7 separate regions of the Homo sapiens genome follow, and regions 1, 2, 3, 4, 5 and 7 are each linked to region 6. Evidence: promoter capture Hi-C in 16 types of primary human blood cells and fetal thymus (Javierre and others, 2016). All regions are on one chromosome and are shown on one strand. The core of a region is centred on a gene start or on the middle of the fragment in contact, and the rest is flanking DNA. Distances in the headings are between cores, read along the strand shown. Region 1 overlaps ZNF221 (zinc finger protein 221). Region 2 overlaps ZNF112 (zinc finger protein 112). Region 3 overlaps ZNF112 (zinc finger protein 112). Region 4 overlaps ZNF155 (zinc finger protein 155). Region 5 has its middle 7.1 kb from the start of ZNF155. Region 6 holds the start of ZNF234 (zinc finger protein 234). Region 7 overlaps ZNF235 (zinc finger protein 235).

Region 1 (2,700 bases), core at 201-2,700, 190 kb after region 6:
TGACTCTCAGTGTTTCGCATAAGAGAGGATAAAATGGCTGGGGGGAGTGTTGGGGTGGGCAAGTGGTGGAAAACTTCCTGGGACTAGAACATAAAAATGTAAGGGTTGATAGGATTATGAAAGTTGGACTATTTAAACAGACTTTATATTAAGAAGTTGTATCTTCTTTACCTAAATGTTTTATGGGAATGGACATTGTATCTGACTAGGGAACGTTTCTCCTGACTAGCATTACAAAACAGAAGGCATATAAATCTACCCTTCAAGCAATATTAGTTGGACATGCTAAATGGGAACCAGTAAGATTGCCTGAGTCCGCACAGTGTAGAATAGAATCTGAAGTGCTGGTATGGACAAATTCTGTTTTGATAGCTCCATGTGGAATGTAGGCTGGGGCTTATGACAGAAGCCTGTGAGTGCCTTCTAGTGACAATTACTGAGACTTTGGACTAGAAAATTTTGACTTGAAGAGTATTTACTACCCCACTATGGGGCATTAACTGAGGCTAGCCCTATGACTGAAAGACATTAAAAATCTTGACACCTGAAATACCTATGCTCTCTTAGGTAATGTTAGGAAAACATTCTAATGGGGATGGCAGTGCCCAGAAGAGTTCCATAATAAAATGGAAATAGTTTATACAGAGTCATGCTACCTGGAGACTGACTCTGGAACTGTGTGAGAAGCTATAAACAACTCTCAACTGACCAGCAAAGAGCTGCTCATTTTGTGAATGGCAGTTCCAAAGTGAATGAACATATGATTTGGAAGGATGCCACCCTGATCAAAGAAGGTAAAAACATATCAGCTCAATGCACTGAATTACACGCTGTTTTCCTAGCAGTGATGAAAAACTGAATGGTGGTAGAAACCCACTTTGGGATCTTTACTGACTCATGGGCAGTGGCAAATGGCCTGGCCATACACTCAGGCAGAAGAGCAGTGGAGATCTGGTCTATTAAAGGGGATGCCCATGTGAGGCATGAACTTACAGAAATTTGAAGTAGGGGGTGTGCATTAAAGTAGGACCTGTTGATGCTCATTGGCAGAGCCCCCTTCAGGTTTTGAATCAACAAGCAGATATCCCCATGTGCTCCCTTGCAGTGGCTGCCTGGGTCCGTGAAATTAGTGGATATGGGAGTAGTGCAGCAGTGCAAAGATGGGCTAAATCGAGACATGTTCTTGCACCCTCTGAGGCACAAAATGCAGATGAAAACTGTTCTGTTTGTCAGCAAAAATGACACAGTGAAGATGGCTGTGAAACAGATTCCCTGGTGGGAAGGACCTGAGTGTAGCTGGCAAGTGATGCTGGTAGCCCTGGGAGGCTACAGATGGGTCTTGACAGCAGTAGACACTGATTCTTGACCGGGTTTTGCTTATATGGTGGAAGATCCAAATGTTCAGAGTGTTTTTAAAAAAAAAGAAGAAAGAAGACCAAGAAACACACTAGATATAGAGCCCACAATGTCCAGCAATGAATAGAGAGCGATCCTCCTCAGAGTAATAGTTTGATAGGGAAGTGGAACAGGCAATTAAAACATTGATTGTCTAAAACAAAGAGATAAAAGCATCAGGGCTGGCTTACACACCTTCGCAAGTGTGTGCTCATACCCAATGTCAGTGGGATAGCAATTTCTCTATTTTTCTGGTTGATCTGGGGAAGACCTGGTGGGAAAGGAGGCTGGGATGACTATGCAATTCTTGCCAAGGGAGGAGAACACCAGTATAATGATTACACTTTTTTTTTTCCTTCTTCCCCATATTACCTCAATTTTTTTCCCCATACCTGATGTAGTGGTCACAGGATCAGGGCTACAACTACAAGTGTTGGAAGCAGGGATGATTCCTAAGCAAGAAACCATAACTAAATTTCTAAAACTTGTGTCAGAATTCCTGAGGGCCCGATGGGGATGGGTTGTGCCTTCACCCCATCTGGCAAAATTGGGCTAACAGTGAATATAACTGTATTTCCTGATGGTAAAAACAGTCCACTATTCTGCACCTAAGTAACCTTACCCTATCTGAATGGAGGTGAACTGAGGGGGAAGCATTTGCTAGACTAGTATTGCTGTCTGCAGTCTAGACCGGCACAGTGGTGATTCTAATGTCCCTTCCAAAGGTGAAAAAGTCTGTGTATTAATGGAAAGAAGGAGAAACGGTAGCTGAGGGTAAAGGAATGAATAAATGAGTTATGAATTGAGAGAACTCCAGTAGTATATTAATACCTTAAGATGACACTGTCTCTTAGCTCAATTACACCAGATGCCTGAAATGGTGAAGCTATATGTTTTGCTAAGACCACTCCTACTTTTAGAACCGTATATCAAATGGAAGCCAGCAAACCTGAGTGGCTTCACCCACTGGACTGGACTTATTAATGTGACTAAATGGGATTCTGATAATGTGGTGGTATCTTTTGAGTTGCATATCCTTTTTTTTTTTTTTTTTTTTTTGAGACGGAGTCTCACTCTGTCTCGCCCAGGCTGGAGTACAGTGGGGCAATCTTTGCTCACTGCAGCCTTTGCCTCCCAGGTTCAGGTGTTTCTCCTGTCTCAGCCTCCCGAGTAGCTGGGACTACAGGCATGTGCCACCATACCTGGCTAATTTTCTATTTTTTGTAGAGATGGGGTTTCCCCATGTTAGCCAGGCTGGTCTCGAACTCCTGACCTCAGGTGATCCACCCACCTCAGCCTCCCAAA
Region 2 (2,700 bases), core at 199-2,698, 210 kb before region 6:
CAGAAAGGTGAGCGCTCCCCGCCCTGCTTCCTGCTCCTTCCGTCCATACTGATGTTCGTTTTGTTGGGGTCCAGTAGCAACCGGGCAGTAGCTCTAGGGGAGGATAATCCACTTGCGGCGAAGGGCGGGATTTGTGTTATCTTTGAATGAGCCTTCTCCAGTGTGGGGCAGCTGGCGCATCCCCACTTAGCGCCGGGGGTCCAAGATCCTACATCGCAGGGACTGGGGATCTCCTGGGTTCTGTACTTCCCCAGCCCTTTCCCCTGACCATCAACCAGCTCTGCCACTTCCTAGCAGTATAATAACAGGCGAGTATCTTAATCTCTCTGCCTATGTTTCTTTTTCTTTAAAATGGTACTAGTATCTATCTAATGGAGTTCTTTTGAGAGTTAAATAAAAAGACTTGGAACAGAGCCTGACAGGTGGTAGAAGATGGGTCTCTTGTTATTAGCACTTTTTAATTTTCTGAGAAGGACTCAGTTCCCTGAAAGCTTCTGTGAACCCAGGATGGGGTCAGAGCTCCAGCTGCAGAGTATCCCTGGCCCTTTTCTGATCACTGAGAGATTTTTCTTTAGGACAGGATCACTCCTGGCTGTCTGGGTAGTCCATTGTAATTCATGCAGGAGTTCTGATTTCCCCCATCCTCCTTTCCTTCTTTAGCCTTGACTTCTTGAAAAAGGCTGCAGGGAGAAGGAGGGAATGACCCTTTGGCACTTGGCAGCGGAGTCTCACCTGAGTAGTACTTATCATCCTTTCTTTTCAGGGAAGACGATATTTCCATCATTCACTGGCAAATTCTGCTCGAAGATGCGCTGATATTTGTTCAATAAATGCAGAAACGGATGAGGGAGTACTTGGGCATGAGTAATAAAGATAGTATTTAAACATTTAGTGCTGATCATTCTAAGAGTTTGATATGAATTAACATCTTTAATCCTCACAAGAGCCCTTTGAGCCTGGGTTGGGTACCACCATTCCCATTTTAAAGATAAGCAAACAGACATAGAGCATAGGTGGTTTATCTTTAGGTCACCCAGGTGGTAAGAGCCTGAGCTGGGATTTGAATTCAAATAGTTTCCATCCATTGCCTTAGTTCTTGATGTGTTTAGTATCAGCTTCAGAACACATATTTGGATTTTACTAGAGGACCGTGAAAGCAAGGTTAATAAGCTTTGAATTTTTGATTTTTTAAAATTATCTGTAATTTAATTTTATTTGAAATATTTATAGTTCATATTCTGATTATATAAATTATTGCATATTGTAAAAGATTAAGAAAGTATAGAAAGTGTAAAAGAAAAAAATTATGCTAACCACAAGATATAACAGTAACAATATTAATATTTCAATGTTTTCCTCTTCCAGTAGACTTCTTTTTGGATTTTCACCCATGTTTAACCAAATAGGCTTCATAGCTTTTATTTTTCCCTTAAGTTTTTACTATGGAAATTTGTAAGCATAGCCAAATGTAATATGACTAAAATAATTCTGTGGAAGCGTCACCCAGCTTCAACCTTTGTTAACATTTGCCAGTCTTGTATCAACTCCCTGTCCCTTTTTTTTTTGTTTCAGTATTTTAAAGCAAATCTCTAACATCGACTTAGTATAATATCGTTTGATTGATTGTCATAATTGCCAAACGTTGATGATCATAAATTGCTTATATCCAAGACTTTGAAAGGGAAATGCCAGCAGCTACTCTAAGGTTTTCATTCGTTGAAGCTTACAGAATGGTCCTTACTTGAGGAAGCTAGGGGATGCAAGAGAATTGTACCTTGGAGAAGGATGGTGATGAATTTTGTGTTCCAGTATAGAGTTTGCCTTGCCTAAGTCTTATAGCTCTTTGTTTCTTATTTCTCTTTATCTAAATCCATACACTGAAAGTTCTTCTATTTCTGGGACCATGTCATACTTTTCTCCATGTGCCCAGCACATCGTACAAGGTTGTTAAGGGTTTATGGTTAGAGTAGCTACTCAACAGACAGCTGGCATCAAGGATTTGCAGTGTGGAATTGGAATTAGGTATCAAAATAGAATAGAAATAACCCCTGGATATATTCCTTAATCTCACTTAATATTGGTAGGTTATATAATCCACCAACTATTTCAGAGTATTGAAGAGTTGAAGAGCAATGATTGGTTATGTTTTGATAATCTAAAAAAATTCCTAAGAAACAAATTGTTAGAAATGGTAACAACATTTATAGACCATGCCTTATAACTGAGGTTGTGTTTCCAGGTTTTTAAAACAGGTTTTTAAAAAATGTTTTTACAGTGACATTGACTATTTTGTTATTTTTGGTATACAATTCTATTACAACACAGGCATAGTTTGTATAACGACTACCGTAGTCAGAAAAAGAACAGTTCCATCACCCCAAAAACTCCCCTCATGTCTTCCCTCATAATTACCCCTCACCATACCTGTAACCACTGGCAACTACCATAACCACTAAAACGCTATAGTTTTGTCTTTTTGAGAATGTCGTATAAATGAACTGATGCTATATGTTAACATTTGAGACCGGATTCTTTTACTCAGCAAATTGCTCTTGACATTCATCAAAGTTGTTATACGTATCAATACTTCATTTCTGTTTACTTCTGGTTAACAGAAGTGTCCACTTTATGGATGTATCACAGTTTATCTATTCTCTGGTTGATAGACTTTTTCCTCCACTTTTTGGCATTTATGAATAG
Region 3 (2,700 bases), core at 110-2,609, 190 kb before region 6:
GGATGCTGCTGGATAAGAAGAAAGAGTCAACAGAAAATTCAAAACAAATTAACTCATTTCTATAATGGTTTGTTTCCATCTTGGTTAAGATTCAGGGTCCTACATGGTACCCTTGAGAGTAGGAGTTAAACTTTTTCTCTAAAGGTCCAAGTAGTAAATACTTTAGATTTTCCTGGCCACATGTGCTCTTTGTCACAGTCTTTGTTTTTCTTACACCACTTTAAAAATGTAGAAAGCGTTCTTGGCTCCTGGGTTGTACAGAAACAGGCCGAGGCCATGCTGTGCCAGTCTACCTTCCTGATACTGTCAGCTGGAACATAATGTCACCTTTTAAAATACCTTAATTTTTTTACCTATACTAACATGATCATATACCTCATATTAATGTAAAAATTTGTTATGTACATTCTTGTTTTTAATATACTAATTTTTCTTCTTTGCCGTTACCTTGGGGAAATCCCTCCCAGTCTAAGATTATAACTCTTGTTTTTGTAATGGATGCATAATACTCTAATAAACAAACTAGTTACTTCCAAGATACAATGGGGCTACAGCCTTTGGGTAAATGCCCCCATTCTGAAAGGGAGAAATCAGGCAAAACAAAGGGGCTGCAGGCCCCATGCCAATCTGAAACCCAGCAGGGCAGTCATTAAATCTCAGAGTTCGAAAATAATCTCCTTTGACTCCATGTCTCACATCCAGGCATGCTGATGCAAGGGATGAGCTCCCAAGGCCTTGGGCATCTCTGCCTCTGTGGCTCTGCAGGGTATAGCCCACTTGGCTATTTTCATGAGCTGGCGTTGAGTGCCTGCATCTTTTCCAGGCACGTGGTGGAAGCTGTTGGTGGGTCTGGGGTCTGGAGGACGGTGGCCCTCTTCTCACAGCTCCACTAGGCAATGCCTCAGTGGGGACTCTGGGGGCTCCAACCCCACATTTCCCTTCTCCATTGACCTAGTAGAGGTTCTCCATGAGGGCTCCACCCCTGCAGCAGACTTCTGCCTGGACATCCAGGTGTTTCTATAAATCCTCTGAAATCTGGGCAGAGGTTCCCAAGCCTCAGCTCTTGCCCTCTGCACACCACAGGCCCAACAGTACGTGGAAGCTGCCAAGGCTTGGGGTTTGCACCCTCTGAAGCAATGGCCTGAGCTATACCTTGGCCCCTTTTAGCCATGGCTGGAACTGGAGCAGCTACAATGCAGGGTGCCGTGTCCTTCAGCTGTAGAAAACAGCAGGGCCCTGGGCCTGAGCCACAGAACTATTTTTCCCTCCTAGGCCTTCAGGCCTGTGGTAGGAGGGACTGTCATGACTGGCTCTGAAATGCCCTGGAGGCATTTTCCCCATTTTCTTGGCTATTAACATTCAGCTCCTCTTTACTTAGGCACATTTCTGCAGCCTTGAATTTCTCCCCAGAAAATTGGTTTTTCTTTTCTACCACATGATCAGGCTGCAAATTTTTCAAATTTTTATGCTCTGCTTCTTTTTTAAATATAAGTTCCAGTTTCAGATAATCTCTTTGCCCATAAATATGAGCATATGCTGTTAGAAGCAGCCAGACCACATCTTGAATGCTTTGCTGCTTAGAAATTTATTCCACCAGATAACCTAAATCATCCCTATCAAGTTCAAAGTTCCACAGATCTTTGGAGCAGAGGCATAATGCTGCCAGTCTCTTTGCTAAAGCATAGCACCAATGTTGGGAAAATGTATAAATGCATTTACAAACCTAAATATATCTAAATATATCACCAGTTCCAGTCCCCAATAACTTCCTCATCTCCATCTGAGACCACCTCAGCCTGGACTTCACTGTCCATATCACTATCCGTATTTTGTTCAAAACCATGTAACAATTCTCTAGGAGATTCCAAACTTTCCCTCATCTTCCTGTCTTCTTCTGAACCCTCCAAATTATTACAACCTCTGCCCATTACCTGTTTCCAAAGTGACTTCCACGTTTTCAGGTATCTTTATAGCAATGCCCCACTTTTCTGGTACCAATTTTCTTTATTCGTCCATTCTCCCATTGCTGTAAAGAACTACCTGAGACCAGGTAATTTATAAAGAAAAGAGGTTTAATTGACTCATGGTTCCATAGGCTATACAGGAAGCATGGCTGGGGAGGCCTCAGGAAACTTATAAATATGGCAGATGGTGAAGGGGAAGGAGGCATGTTTTACATGGCAGAGAAAGAGGAAGAGAAAGAGGGCAGGAAGTGCTACATGCTTTCAAACAACCAGATCTCTTGAGAACTCTGTCACGAGACAGCACTTGGGGGATGGTGCTAAACCATTAGAAAGCACCCCCATGATCCAATCACCTCCCACCAGGCCTCAACTCCAACACTGGGAATTACAATTCAACATGAGATTTGGGTGGGGACGCAGAGCGAAACCATATCAGTGGTTAAGAAAGGAGTCAGCACAGCAGCTTAAATATTTGTGATCAAAACATTGTCACCACTATACCTTGTATTGTCTCTATCTAAAAGCGAAGTAAGAACGGAAGGTGATCTCAGCCTGGGTAACCTGAGCTGATGTTCTCGCTTAGCTTTTATTAAAGAAGAAGAAGAAGAAGACATAAACAAAGATTTTTTTTCTCTGAGTTCATTATAGCTAACTATTAAATTCAAAGGAATTACTTGTCTTTATGACAAATATAGCACCTTTGTTATTGAATTGATCAATTTGGGTTGCTTGAATC
Region 4 (2,700 bases), core at 121-2,620, 150 kb after region 6:
TTTCCAAGTACACCCTGATTTCTGGTTTGCATGAGGCCAATTCAGAACCACATCATGTCTCACATGTGAAATCCTTGATAGAAATAATAGACTTAATTTAAAAATATGATATACATTTAACTTGTTACTATTTGTAATGAATTTCCTAGTCAGTCCAAAATCTTGCATGATAAATTATGAAAATAAAAATTTATGTACATAATGAAATATGAATCAAAAGGAACTTTAAGGAAAAGCAATAACTTAATCAACACTTTGTATATTTGTGTTTATGCTGTATATCCTTATAAAGAAGTTAAACTAGGCCAGGTGCGGTGGCTCAAGCCTTTAATCCCAGCACTTTGGGATTGATCACTGGAGTCCAGCAGTTCGAGACCAGCCTGGGCAATATAGCAAAACCCTGTCCCTACTAAAAATACATAAATTAGCCAGGTGTGGTCGTGCACTCTGTAGTCCCAGCTACTTGGGAAGCTGAGGTGGAAGAATTGCTTGAGCCTGGGAGGTGGAAGTTGCAGTGAGCCCTGGGTGACAGAGCGAGACCCTGTCTCAAAAAAAAAAAAAAAAAAAAGTGCTGGATGCAGTGGCTCACACCTGTAATCCCAGCATTTTGGGAGGCTGAAGTGGGCAGATCACTTGAGGTCAGGAGTTCAAGACCAGCCTGGCCTTGAAACCCCGTCTCTGCTAAAAATACAAAAATTAGCCACGTGTGGTGGCACATGCCTGTAGTCCCAGCTACTCAGGAGGCTGAGGCAGGAGAATTGCTTAAACCTGGAAGGCAGAGGTTGCAGTGAGCTGAGATTGAGATCGTGCCACTGCACTCCAACCTGGGAGATAGAGCGAGACTCTGCCTCAAAAAAAAAAAAAAAGTTAACCTAACCAAAAAGAGGTTGGGACTTTGTCCTCAGCATCTGAGAGGTAATCTCTAGGATCCTGAAGTGTCATACCTCAGGAGAGTGTCTTGGTTGGCTTGAAGGCAATCACTGGATCACTCTGCATAGTGAAACAATATAATTTATGGTTGCAACTGGCAAATCCTTTGGGGGATTGGGAGTGGGAGATGCTCCTCTCCATGTCAGAAATAAGCAATGTGATTTAAGGTGGAGCTTTAGGTCACAGAGAGTTAGTGGACTAGGAGACTGATTAACCACCTAGGAATCATCAATCAATACTGGCTCCATAATGGAGACCCAATAATTACTCTGGATCCCAGCACTTAGGTGAGTTTCTGTGACTGACAGTACTTTGAGTCTAAGTCATACCTTAATCCTGGGAATGTAACACATCCTACTCTGCCAGGAGAATACAATAGAAGGTCCGCATTTGGTTATTCTCATCTGGACCCTGTTTTATTTGGTTTTTCTCTAAGTATAATATACATGTTTTCCCTGTAAAAATCAGTCAGTGAGAATAAAAGTATTCAGTGAGTTCTGAGAGTTTAGAAAATTATTGAATGCAAAGGCAGTTTTGAAAACCTCCTGAATTTGCACTTGGTGTGAAGTGAGAGCAGTTCTCTGTAAAATGTCTCAGTAAATTTTGTAGTTGGTTGAACTCTGCACAACATTAAACATCAAACACTTCATAGTGTTTCTATGTACACATTCAAAGTATCCCTGCACAAGAATTTTGCACAGCATATGTAAAATACTTCATCTTACTTTTCTGTATTGATGTGGAGAGTAACTTGGTTATCTGAAGGAGTACAGAGACACACAACTACAGTTTTGAGGGGAATCTGAAAGGCTGTCCTTCCAGGGGTCCACAAAGGGGGATGCTCCTGAGCAGACAATCAAAAATGTGAAGAATCACATGAAATGAAAAGAAAGCCTATGATGCAGATAAATAGGACTTTATAACTTTTTATATTGAAGACTACACATTAGTGAGCTATGAAATACAGTTAAACTCTGCAATAAACATTTACAAAAAAGAACTGGAATGTAAATTATCACAGCATCATGACAAGCAGGAAAGTGGTCATTCCATGAAATGCCTCCTAGAGTCACTCATACACATCTACAGGCATGAAAAATGTTTGTCCGGGTTATATTGAAATATGTGCTTCTTACTATGGCTCATGCTTGCAAAACATTCAAAACTTTGTCAGGATAATACCAAGTCCTGAATTAAGTAAATTCTTCCAATGGAAAGTTAAGTTGCAGAGGTTGAATCTTGGAAAGGATTTATAGGTAAGTGTGTACCTATTGGTATACAGTGGTACGTAGATATATTTAATACACTGTCACTTATAAATAAGAGGTCTTGGCTGGGCATGGTGGCTCACATTTGTAATCCCAGCACTTTGGGAGGCCGAGGCGGGTGGATCACCTGAGGTCAGGAGTTCGAGACCAGCCTGGCCAATGTGGTGAAACCCCATCTCTACTAAAAATACAAAAATTAGCTGGGTGTGGTGGTGGGCACCTGTAATTCCAGCTACTTATGAGGGTGAGGCAGGAGAATCACTTGAACCTGGGAGGCGGAGGTCGCTGTGAGCCGAGATTGCACCATTGCACTCCAGGCTGGGTGACGAGCGAAACTGCATCTCAAAAATAAATTAAATTAATAAGAAATCTTTAAGGAGAAAGGAGAATCTTCAGGATGTTTCTAGTTTTAGAGGGCAGTTTCCCAATTCCTAACAGGTCATAAAGTTCACCAGTTCAAAATACAGCACTAAATCTATAAAAATCAAGAAAAAATTGTGTA
Region 5 (2,700 bases), core at 13-2,512, 160 kb after region 6:
ATCTGATGAATTTTCTTTTACAAATAATTATCTTAGAGATGAACTATTATCTGGTGATAGTTTAAGAAAACCCCACAAGACTGCAGGCCCTACTTTTCTGATACCACATGCACAAAAAGTTAACATAGCAGGCATAAGTCAGACTGCTAACTTTAAAAAGAGCTGTTTGCAACACTGGCCTTTGGCTGGAGTCAAGGAACATGGGGTTTGAGAGAGTTACCACCTTTCCATAATGGGTAGGAGTGGTCACTGCGCCTAAACTCTACAATGCAGCTTATTTGGAACACTTGCTCTTCTTCTTAGAGTTGGGAATCTTGATATGTACTAGACACATACCTACATAATCAATCTCAATAAGAACCTGTGCTGCTGGTTGCTAATGAGCTTCCATTGTAGACATTTCACAAGTAGTATCACAATTCAATGCTAGAGGAGTTGAGTCTTATGTAACACCATGCAGAGAGGACTCTGGTAAGCTTGCTTCTGGTTTCCTCTAGACAACTGCCCATGAGCCATTTCCCTTTACAGATTCTGTTTTGTATCTTGTCACTGTAATATTGTTATAAGTACAACTATAGTCTCAGTTATTTTAGTAAATCACAGAACCCAGAGGTGGTCTTAGGGACCTCCAATCTACTATCCAAACTGGCACAGCATGAATATAGCATCATGAAAATACATTATTTAGAAAATTAATTATGAAAAGCTTACTATCTCAACTAGACACTTTGAAGAATGCCTTTTAACCTAATACAGTTAAGTTACACCATGGTGTATAACTATGAATTAGCACCCAAATCAGCTCTTTGTCCGAGCTGGTTCCACACACTAAGAGACTGCTGCTGTCATGTTAAGTTCCCTGATCATGCGCATTTGTTCTTCAAAGAATCTGTTTTTTTAACCTCCACAACTATATATACCCACATTATTTCTGTCACTAGGATTTGCTTGCTTCCTGACTTATGCCTAAAGCAGAATCACACACATTAGTTATGAAGGCAGTTGACCACACTCATCAATCTGTATATCCAGGTGACCAGATACATTTTTTTATTTTGAAATATGACTTCCACATCCCTATTCCTTAATTTTGAACTGTCATATGACAATGTAGAGCAATCTTATTCAGAGTCCTTATAGGTAAGTGATTAATATTAATAATTTTTCAAATTTTTCATCACATAACTGCTTTGGTAAAATTGGTGTTCAATGAGAAATTTAAAATGCATAAAATTATAAAATGAAAAATTCCAGCAAATACTCATTGCCAGGGAAAATGTCAGAATATTCATCCACAAATGATGTACATACACACTAAAAATAACCAAATAAACAAACCCAGAAACACAAAGACACTTAGTTTGTTATGAAGGCTACAATAGGATTTCCCTAAGGCATACATTATGCTCTTCTCTTTTTATTGTACATCTATGTCATCATTTTACTGGCTTTGTGTTTTTATATTAATAAATGCACTTCATACAAATTCCTGTGGTTGAACACTTGTTCTTTCCATTTTAAAATTAAGTGACATCATCCATGTAATCTACTAATTTTCAGAGTTTTAATGTTGTAATTTTCTATCCTATGATTTCCAGGTTGAACAGTTGTACCTTATACATACTGCCATATACCACTTTCCAAAAAACGTATTCTTATGGCCAACAATAAAGAAGAGTATGTAAAGGTTACTCTTGCTCCAATAATGAATATGTATGATGAAATCACCAAACTCCAACAAATGTTCTTGGTAGTTCATAGAGATGGGAAGAAATACTGAGGTTGCCAAAAATTTTCCTTCAAATTTGGCAAAGCTTCTACCTGAGAAGTCTGATAAAAGAAATAACTACAGCAATTAGAAGGCAATCATATTAAAGCCTGCACAGAAACGCAGAATCACAAATCATGATCAATTCAAAACTTATTAGGAATTTTTTTTTAGATGAAGTCTCGCTCTGTTGCCCAGGCTGGAGTACAGTGGCACAATCTCAGCTCACTGCAACCTCCGCCTCCCAGGCTCAAGCGATTCTCATGCCTCAGCCTCTCAGGTAGCTGGGATTACAGGCACACACCACCACACCAGCTAATTTTTGTATTTTTAGTAGAGACGGGGTTTTGCCATGTTGACCAGGCTGATCTCGAACCCATGGCCTCAAGTGATCCACCTGCCTCAGCCTCCCAAAGTGCTGGGATTACAGGAGTGAGCCACCACACCTGGCCTTTACCAGAAAAATTTTTGTCAATGTAACTACATCTGCCACATTAGAAATGTTACTGTGGGCTGGGTGTGGTGGCTCATGCCTATAATTCAAGCACTTTGGGAGGCTGAGGTAGGAGGATTGCCTGAGCCTAGAAGTTCAAGGCCAGCCAAGCAACATGGTGAGACTGTCTCTATTCCTTAAAAATAATTTTTTAAAAGAAAAAAGTGTTTACTGTGAATCCTGCCTTAAAATTGTTGAAAAAACTTAATTGTACAATATGCAGTGGTCTGTTATTACAAAATCTTTTCACCTCATATTGTGAGAAAAGTGACAAATGATTGTTAAATTTATACTATATACAATCAAGGGAACACTAGACAGAGTCCCAAATAATAAGAATCCGACTTGAGAACAGAGGATGAGGAGAAGCCAGGAGCCAAGTGGAATAAGATAATAATCAAAATAAAGGTCTACATTGCAGTGCTGAGTGTACCCTGCA
Region 6 (2,700 bases), core at 34-2,533:
ATTTTTGTATCTTCGTATTTCTGTAATTTCTGAATGCTTCACAGTGATACGGTTCTATTAGAATGTGAAATATTTGTAATAAATGAAACAAAATAGTTGACAGTTTTTAAAAACTGAGAAAACTCCAAGGCAATTAGCCTTGCTCTTAAGGTCCTTTAATCAAGTTCTAACTTACTTTCCCCACCTGAGTACAGCTAGTTCCTCTGCCTCAATGAGAATATATCCAAGAGATGATCAACTCGGGCTCTGACCCTGAATGCCTAGGTTCCAACCCAAGTTTCACCTCTTACTACTTGGATGACCAGTACCTCTCCACAGAGTCACGTTGCGGCTTAAACGTATCTAATTGTATAAATCCCCTAGAATTGAAGTTAGCAATTAAGGCTTAATTATTATAAATGCCCATGCCCTATTACACATGCTACAAAGATACAGTCTCTGTAAAAGAAAAATGACAAGTCACACTCACGTGGAGCTTTGCTTTCAGTAGCCAAGAAGTCAGTCCGCGCAGTCCTTTTTCAGGCTGGGGAAGGAGAAAGCTGTGAAACATCCTGACTGGGTCGCTGTCCCTGAGAAAAGTTAAATGCTCCCCTCCCTTCGTGGAAGTGGACGCAACCCTCGCCTGCCTAAAAAGAGGTCAGAAGGCGTCCGGGATCGTCCAGCGTCCTGCAGGGATCAGAGATAAGGGCTGAGGCCCCTGCTGCTGGAGCTCTGACCCCACCGGGGGACCTAACAGGTTTCGTGGGAAAGTAACAAGAAACCACCACTCACCAAGTGACAGGGACTGTTTGTGTTGTGTAACCTATTCCAGTTACCAAAACGATTCTACAAAGATGGTCCTAACGTCCCCATTTTAAAGAACAGCAAGGAGAGGCCCAGGGAGATTAACACGCCAACCTTGCACTGTAAAAAAGTGACTGCGCGCCTGGAGTGCAGGGAGGCGGAGTGGGCGAGCTCAGAGCCCCGGAAACCCTCAAACCAGGCGAGACGCGACCCAACCAAGTCCCAATGCCCCCCGCCTCCCGCCGCGGGACACGAGGGGAGCCCCAGCCCAAGAAGGCTCCGCTGACACAACAAAAGCCGCCGCCCTCGCCCCACCAAACCTCTGCTCTCCCACGAGGCTTCTTTTCCCATAACCGGACCACCAGGTCCCAGCGAGCCCCAATCTTAAGTCCCTGACATTAGGAGGGGCCCGCGAGTCGCGGAACTGGAAGAAACTACCGTGGAATGTGCCGTGACAATCGCCCCCTCTTCCCTGGAGCGGAAGTGCCCGCGACTCCACTGATTGGCGGGACTACATTTCCCAGAATTCCCCGGATCCCCCTGCGTGGGTCAAATGGACCACGACTCCACTGAGCGTTTGGATTACACTCAGAATGCTGAGGGAAAAACGTTCAGAATCTCACCCTTCAGGGAAAAGCGATGGGACTCCGCGGTGCTCCTTGCCTACGATTCCCGCACTGCCCATGGGGAACGAATCCTATATCGCTGAGCGCTTGGTAGGGAATGTGGACTGTGACCCTGAGAGTCGTCCTTCCCTCTGCCTGAGTCCTTGAGCGAAAATATTGAATAGACAGCAATTCCTGAAGTCTAAACGCCTCCCAGGACTACGGAGGATTATTGGAAAGAGAACAAGCGAGGAGATACAATCTTCAAGGACTAAATGGGGAATGACTTTTTAGGGGTCAGTAGATGATTGATGATTGATTACTATAAACTGATAATATGAGGCCAAAACTAAAAGTTGGAAGAGTGAGCAAGTACAATGGTTTGGGAGAGGCAATGAAGAACAAAGAAGGTGCCAGCCCCTACTCCAGACGCTGTGGTACCACTGGTTTGGCAGGAAAAACAATCATCATTTGAGAGGGCCAGTGGGGAAGCCCTGTCCTCATGGAAAAGCTATCTTCTTTCGTTTACACTTTTCATGGTATTATGTCTACTGAAGAGGTAAAAACACCAAATTTCAGAGAAGCTCTTAAATTGCCCAATACTTCAAAGCAAGTATAACTGGTGAAGCGCTTGGCATTGATGTCAGACACCCAATGCCTATGATTTATTTAATGCAGTAGCATTAAGGAGGATCCTATACGTGAAGGAACATATTTTATTTTCTTCCTTTATATTTTTTGGTTAAAATATCGTCATTATAGTTAGCAATTTGGAATCTGGCTTACATTGGTTGATACAAATAAATAATAGAATAAAGCAAAATCAGAAAAAAACCCATCTAAAATCTTTCTTCAAGATAACCAGGGGCTGGGTGCGGTGGCTCACGCCTGTAATCCCAGCACTTTGGGAAGGCCAAGGCGGGCGGACCATGAGGTCAAGAGTTCGAGACCAGCCAGGAGAACATGGTGAAAACCCATATCTACTAAGAATACAAAAATTAGCCGGGCATGGTGGTGCGTGCCTGTAATTCCAGCTACTCGGGAGACTGAGGTAGGAGAATCGCTTGAACCTGAGAGGCAGAGGTTGCAGTGAGCCGAGATCATGCCACTGCACTCCAGCCTGGGCGACAGAGCAAGACTCTGTCACGGAAAAAAAAAAAAAAAAAAAGATAACCAGATTTTTTTCTCCCCATAAACATACATTGGCCTATTGATATGGTTTAGATCTGTGTCCCCACCCAAATCTCATGTTGAAATGTAATCCCCAGTGTTGGAGTTGGGGCCTGGTGGGAGGCGATTGGATCACCGGGGA
Region 7 (2,700 bases), core at 48-2,547, 150 kb before region 6:
GCTTTTCAGAGTTCCTATAAATTTATTTCAGCCAGTCTAGTTGTTTTTTTGACGTTTCCATGGGGAAAATGAGAGCTTAGATCTTAATTCTCTACTTTGCTAATGTCAGTCTCTTGGTCCTTTATTCCTTATTCTCTCTATCCTTTCAGGAGACAGGAATCAAAATGAGATGGCAACTCTTCACAAAGCAGGATTAAGGTGCTTTTCACTGGGAGAGCTTTCATGCTGGCAAATCAAGAGACACATTGCGAGCAAATTAGCCAGAAGTCAAGACTCCATGATAAATATTGAAGGAAAGAGCTCTCAGTTCCCCAAGCACCATGATTCCCCCTGTCAAGTGGGAGCAGGAGAATCTATTCAAGCTTCTGTGGATGACAACTGTCTAGTGAATCACATAGGGGATCATTCCAGTATCATTGAAAATCAAGAATTTCCAACTGGGAAAGTTCCGAATTCTTGGAGTAAAATATATCTGAATGAGACACAGAATTATCAGAGAAGTTGTAAGCAGACTCAGATGAAAAACAAACTATGTATATTTGCTCCATATGTTGACATTTTCAGTTGTATTTCACACCACCATGATGATAATATAGTGCACAAAAGAGATAAAGTTCATAGCAATAGTGATTGTGGTAAAGATACCCTAAAGGTATCACCTCTTACCCAGCGTAGTATTCACACAGGACAGAAAACCTACCAGGGTAATGAATGTGAAGAAGCCTTCAATGATAGCTCCAGTCTTGAACTTCATAAACAGGTACACTTGGGAAAGAAGTCTCCAGCGTGTAGTACACATGAGAAGGACACCAGTTATAGCTCAGGTATTCCTGTTCAACAAAGTGTTCGTACTGGGAAAAAACGCTATTGGTGTCATGAATGTGGTAAAGGTTTCAGTCAGAGCTCAAATCTGCAAACTCATCAGAGAGTCCACACAGGGGAGAAACCCTATACATGCCACGAGTGTGGTAAGAGCTTTAATCAGAGCTCACATCTTTATGCTCATTTGCCTATTCACACAGGAGAGAAGCCCTATAGATGTGACAGTTGTGGGAAGGGCTTCAGTCGTAGCACAGATCTTAACATTCATTGCAGAGTTCACACTGGAGAGAAACCTTATAAATGTGAGGTGTGTGGGAAGGGCTTCACTCAGAGATCACATCTTCAGGCCCATGAAAGAATTCACACTGGAGAGAAACCATATAAATGTGGGGATTGTGGTAAACGCTTTAGTTGTAGCTCAAATCTTCATACCCATCAGAGAGTCCACACTGAAGAAAAACCATACAAATGTGATGAGTGTGGTAAGTGCTTTAGTTTGAGCTTTAATCTTCATAGTCATCAACGAGTCCACACAGGAGAAAAACCATATAAATGTGAAGAGTGTGGTAAGGGTTTTAGTTCAGCCTCAAGTTTCCAGAGCCATCAGAGGGTCCATACAGGAGAGAAACCATTTCGATGCAACGTGTGTGGGAAAGGCTTCAGTCAGAGTTCATACTTTCAAGCACATCAGAGAGTCCACACTGGAGAAAAACCATACAAATGTGAAGTGTGTGGGAAGCGCTTCAATTGGAGCTTGAATCTTCACAATCATCAGAGAGTCCACACCGGAGAGAAACCCTACAAATGTGAAGAGTGTGGTAAGGGTTTCAGTCAGGCTTCAAATCTTCAAGCCCATCAGAGCGTCCACACTGGGGAAAAACCATTCAAGTGTGATGCATGTCAGAAGCGATTCAGTCAGGCCTCACACCTTCAAGCCCATCAGAGAGTCCACACCGGAGAGAAACCATATAAATGTGACACTTGTGGTAAGGCCTTCAGCCAGAGGTCAAATCTTCAAGTCCATCAGATAATTCACACTGGAGAGAAACCATTTAAATGTGAGGAATGTGGGAAAGAATTCAGTTGGAGTGCTGGTCTCAGTGCCCATCAGAGGGTCCACACAGGAGAGAAACCCTATACGTGTCAGCAGTGTGGGAAGGGCTTCAGTCAGGCCTCACATTTTCACACACACCAGAGAGTCCACACTGGAGAGAGGCCTTACATATGTGATGTCTGTTGTAAGGGCTTCAGTCAGAGGTCACATCTCATCTACCATCAGAGAGTCCACACTGGAGGGAATCTGTAGAAATGAGAGGTGTGGTTCAGCCTTCAGTTAGAGCTCACATCTTTGTCTCCGTTGGGAAGTCCATGCTGATGATTGTGAAAAGTTCCTTTAAAACTAGAAGCTTCAAAGAATCTTGACAGGAAAGAAGTCTCTCAAATGCTGTGTTTTAGACTTGGTTAGGACATGAATTCTTTACAAACGTCATATTTCACAGATGCGAGAAAACTTTGTTCTGTAAATATGATCAGTGTTTATATCAGAGTACCAGGTGTCCCGGTTCTCAAGATGTAACACAGCAGAAAAGTCTTGTCGGAGTCTGCACAGGAGAGAGGCCTTCCTTTAACAAAAGTATGATTGACAGAAAAAATGGATGTCAACTAAAATGTAACCTCTATGTAAGGAGGTGTTTTTCACCACTCTATCTCTACCATGTAGAATTGTGCTTGGCTCATAATAGGGCCCAGCAATTACTGAAGAAAGTGAAGAAAATACCTATAATTAGGACAAATACTTGAAAATTCTAGTCTGTTTTCTACTCTAAATTTATATTAATTTATATTCAAAAGGAATCCTGCAAGTAGCCTTAATAACGT

Evidence for each region. The method cuts DNA at HindIII sites, captures the fragments that hold promoters and counts their contacts. A CHiCAGO score of 5 or more calls a contact.
Region 1: a fragment that was not itself captured here is called in contact with the fragment with the promoter of ZNF234 in region 6 in 11 of 17 cell types (M2 macrophages, neutrophils, total CD8 T cells and 8 more); the score reaches 11.1 in M2 macrophages.
Region 2: a fragment that was not itself captured here is called in contact with the fragment with the promoter of ZNF234 in region 6 in 1 of 17 cell types (naive CD8 T cells); the score reaches 5.5 in naive CD8 T cells.
Region 3: a fragment that was not itself captured here is called in contact with the fragment with the promoter of ZNF234 in region 6 in 1 of 17 cell types (naive B cells); the score reaches 5.9 in naive B cells.
Region 4: a fragment that was not itself captured here is called in contact with the fragment with the promoter of ZNF234 in region 6 in 1 of 17 cell types (activated CD4 T cells); the score reaches 5.6 in activated CD4 T cells.
Region 5: a contact is called between a fragment that was not itself captured here and the fragment with the promoter of ZNF234 in region 6, in 14 of 17 cell types (activated CD4 T cells, non-activated CD4 T cells, total CD4 T cells and 11 more). The highest score is 8.3, in activated CD4 T cells.
Region 7: a fragment that was not itself captured here is called in contact with the fragment with the promoter of ZNF234 in region 6 in 11 of 17 cell types (naive CD8 T cells, M1 macrophages, activated CD4 T cells and 8 more); the score reaches 9.0 in naive CD8 T cells.

The regions. Positions count from the first base shown.
Region 1 is chr19:43,953,838-43,956,537 of GRCh38, reverse strand. The region is part of intron 1 of ZNF221 (zinc finger protein 221); the gene reads right to left. Among named protein-coding and RNA genes, the nearest start is that of ZNF221, 4.0 kb to the right of the region's middle. The HindIII fragment of the contact is 3,666 bases long and covers 1-2,700 here.
Region 2 is chr19:44,353,933-44,356,632 of GRCh38, reverse strand. It overlaps ZNF112 (zinc finger protein 112), which reads left to right. Exons shown (of 4, transcript NM_013380.4): 1 at 1-7. Among named protein-coding and RNA genes, the nearest start is that of ZNF112, 1.4 kb to the left of the region's middle. RefSeq lists an enhancer at 1-144. The HindIII fragment of the contact is 552 bases long and covers 1,173-1,724 here.
Region 3 is chr19:44,333,141-44,335,840 of GRCh38, reverse strand. All of the region lies in intron 3 of ZNF112 (zinc finger protein 112), which reads left to right. Among named protein-coding and RNA genes, the nearest start is that of ZNF112, 22 kb to the left of the region's middle. The HindIII fragment of the contact is 4,114 bases long and covers 1-2,700 here.
Region 4 is chr19:43,993,275-43,995,974 of GRCh38, reverse strand. The region is part of intron 4 of ZNF155 (zinc finger protein 155); the gene reads right to left. Among named protein-coding and RNA genes, the nearest start is that of ZNF230-DT, 8.2 kb to the left of the region's middle. The HindIII fragment of the contact is 4,894 bases long and covers 1-2,700 here.
Region 5 is chr19:43,975,776-43,978,475 of GRCh38, reverse strand. It overlaps a transcript of ZNF221 not described here. Among named protein-coding and RNA genes, the nearest start is that of ZNF155, 7.1 kb to the left of the region's middle. The HindIII fragment of the contact is 1,108 bases long and covers 709-1,816 here.
Region 6 is chr19:44,140,137-44,142,836 of GRCh38, reverse strand. ZNF234 (zinc finger protein 234) reads right to left here and starts at 1,283. Exons shown (of 6, transcript NM_006630.3): 1 at 1,104-1,283; 2 at 470-523. RefSeq lists enhancers at 796-845, 511-1,101, 856-1,255. The HindIII fragment of the contact is 9,485 bases long and covers 1-2,700 here.
Region 7 is chr19:44,286,646-44,289,345 of GRCh38, reverse strand. It overlaps ZNF235 (zinc finger protein 235), which reads left to right. Exons shown (of 5, transcript NM_004234.4): 5 at 150-2,700. The coding sequence ends at 2,128. Among named protein-coding and RNA genes, the nearest start is that of ZNF235, 17 kb to the left of the region's middle. The HindIII fragment of the contact is 1,866 bases long and covers 365-2,230 here.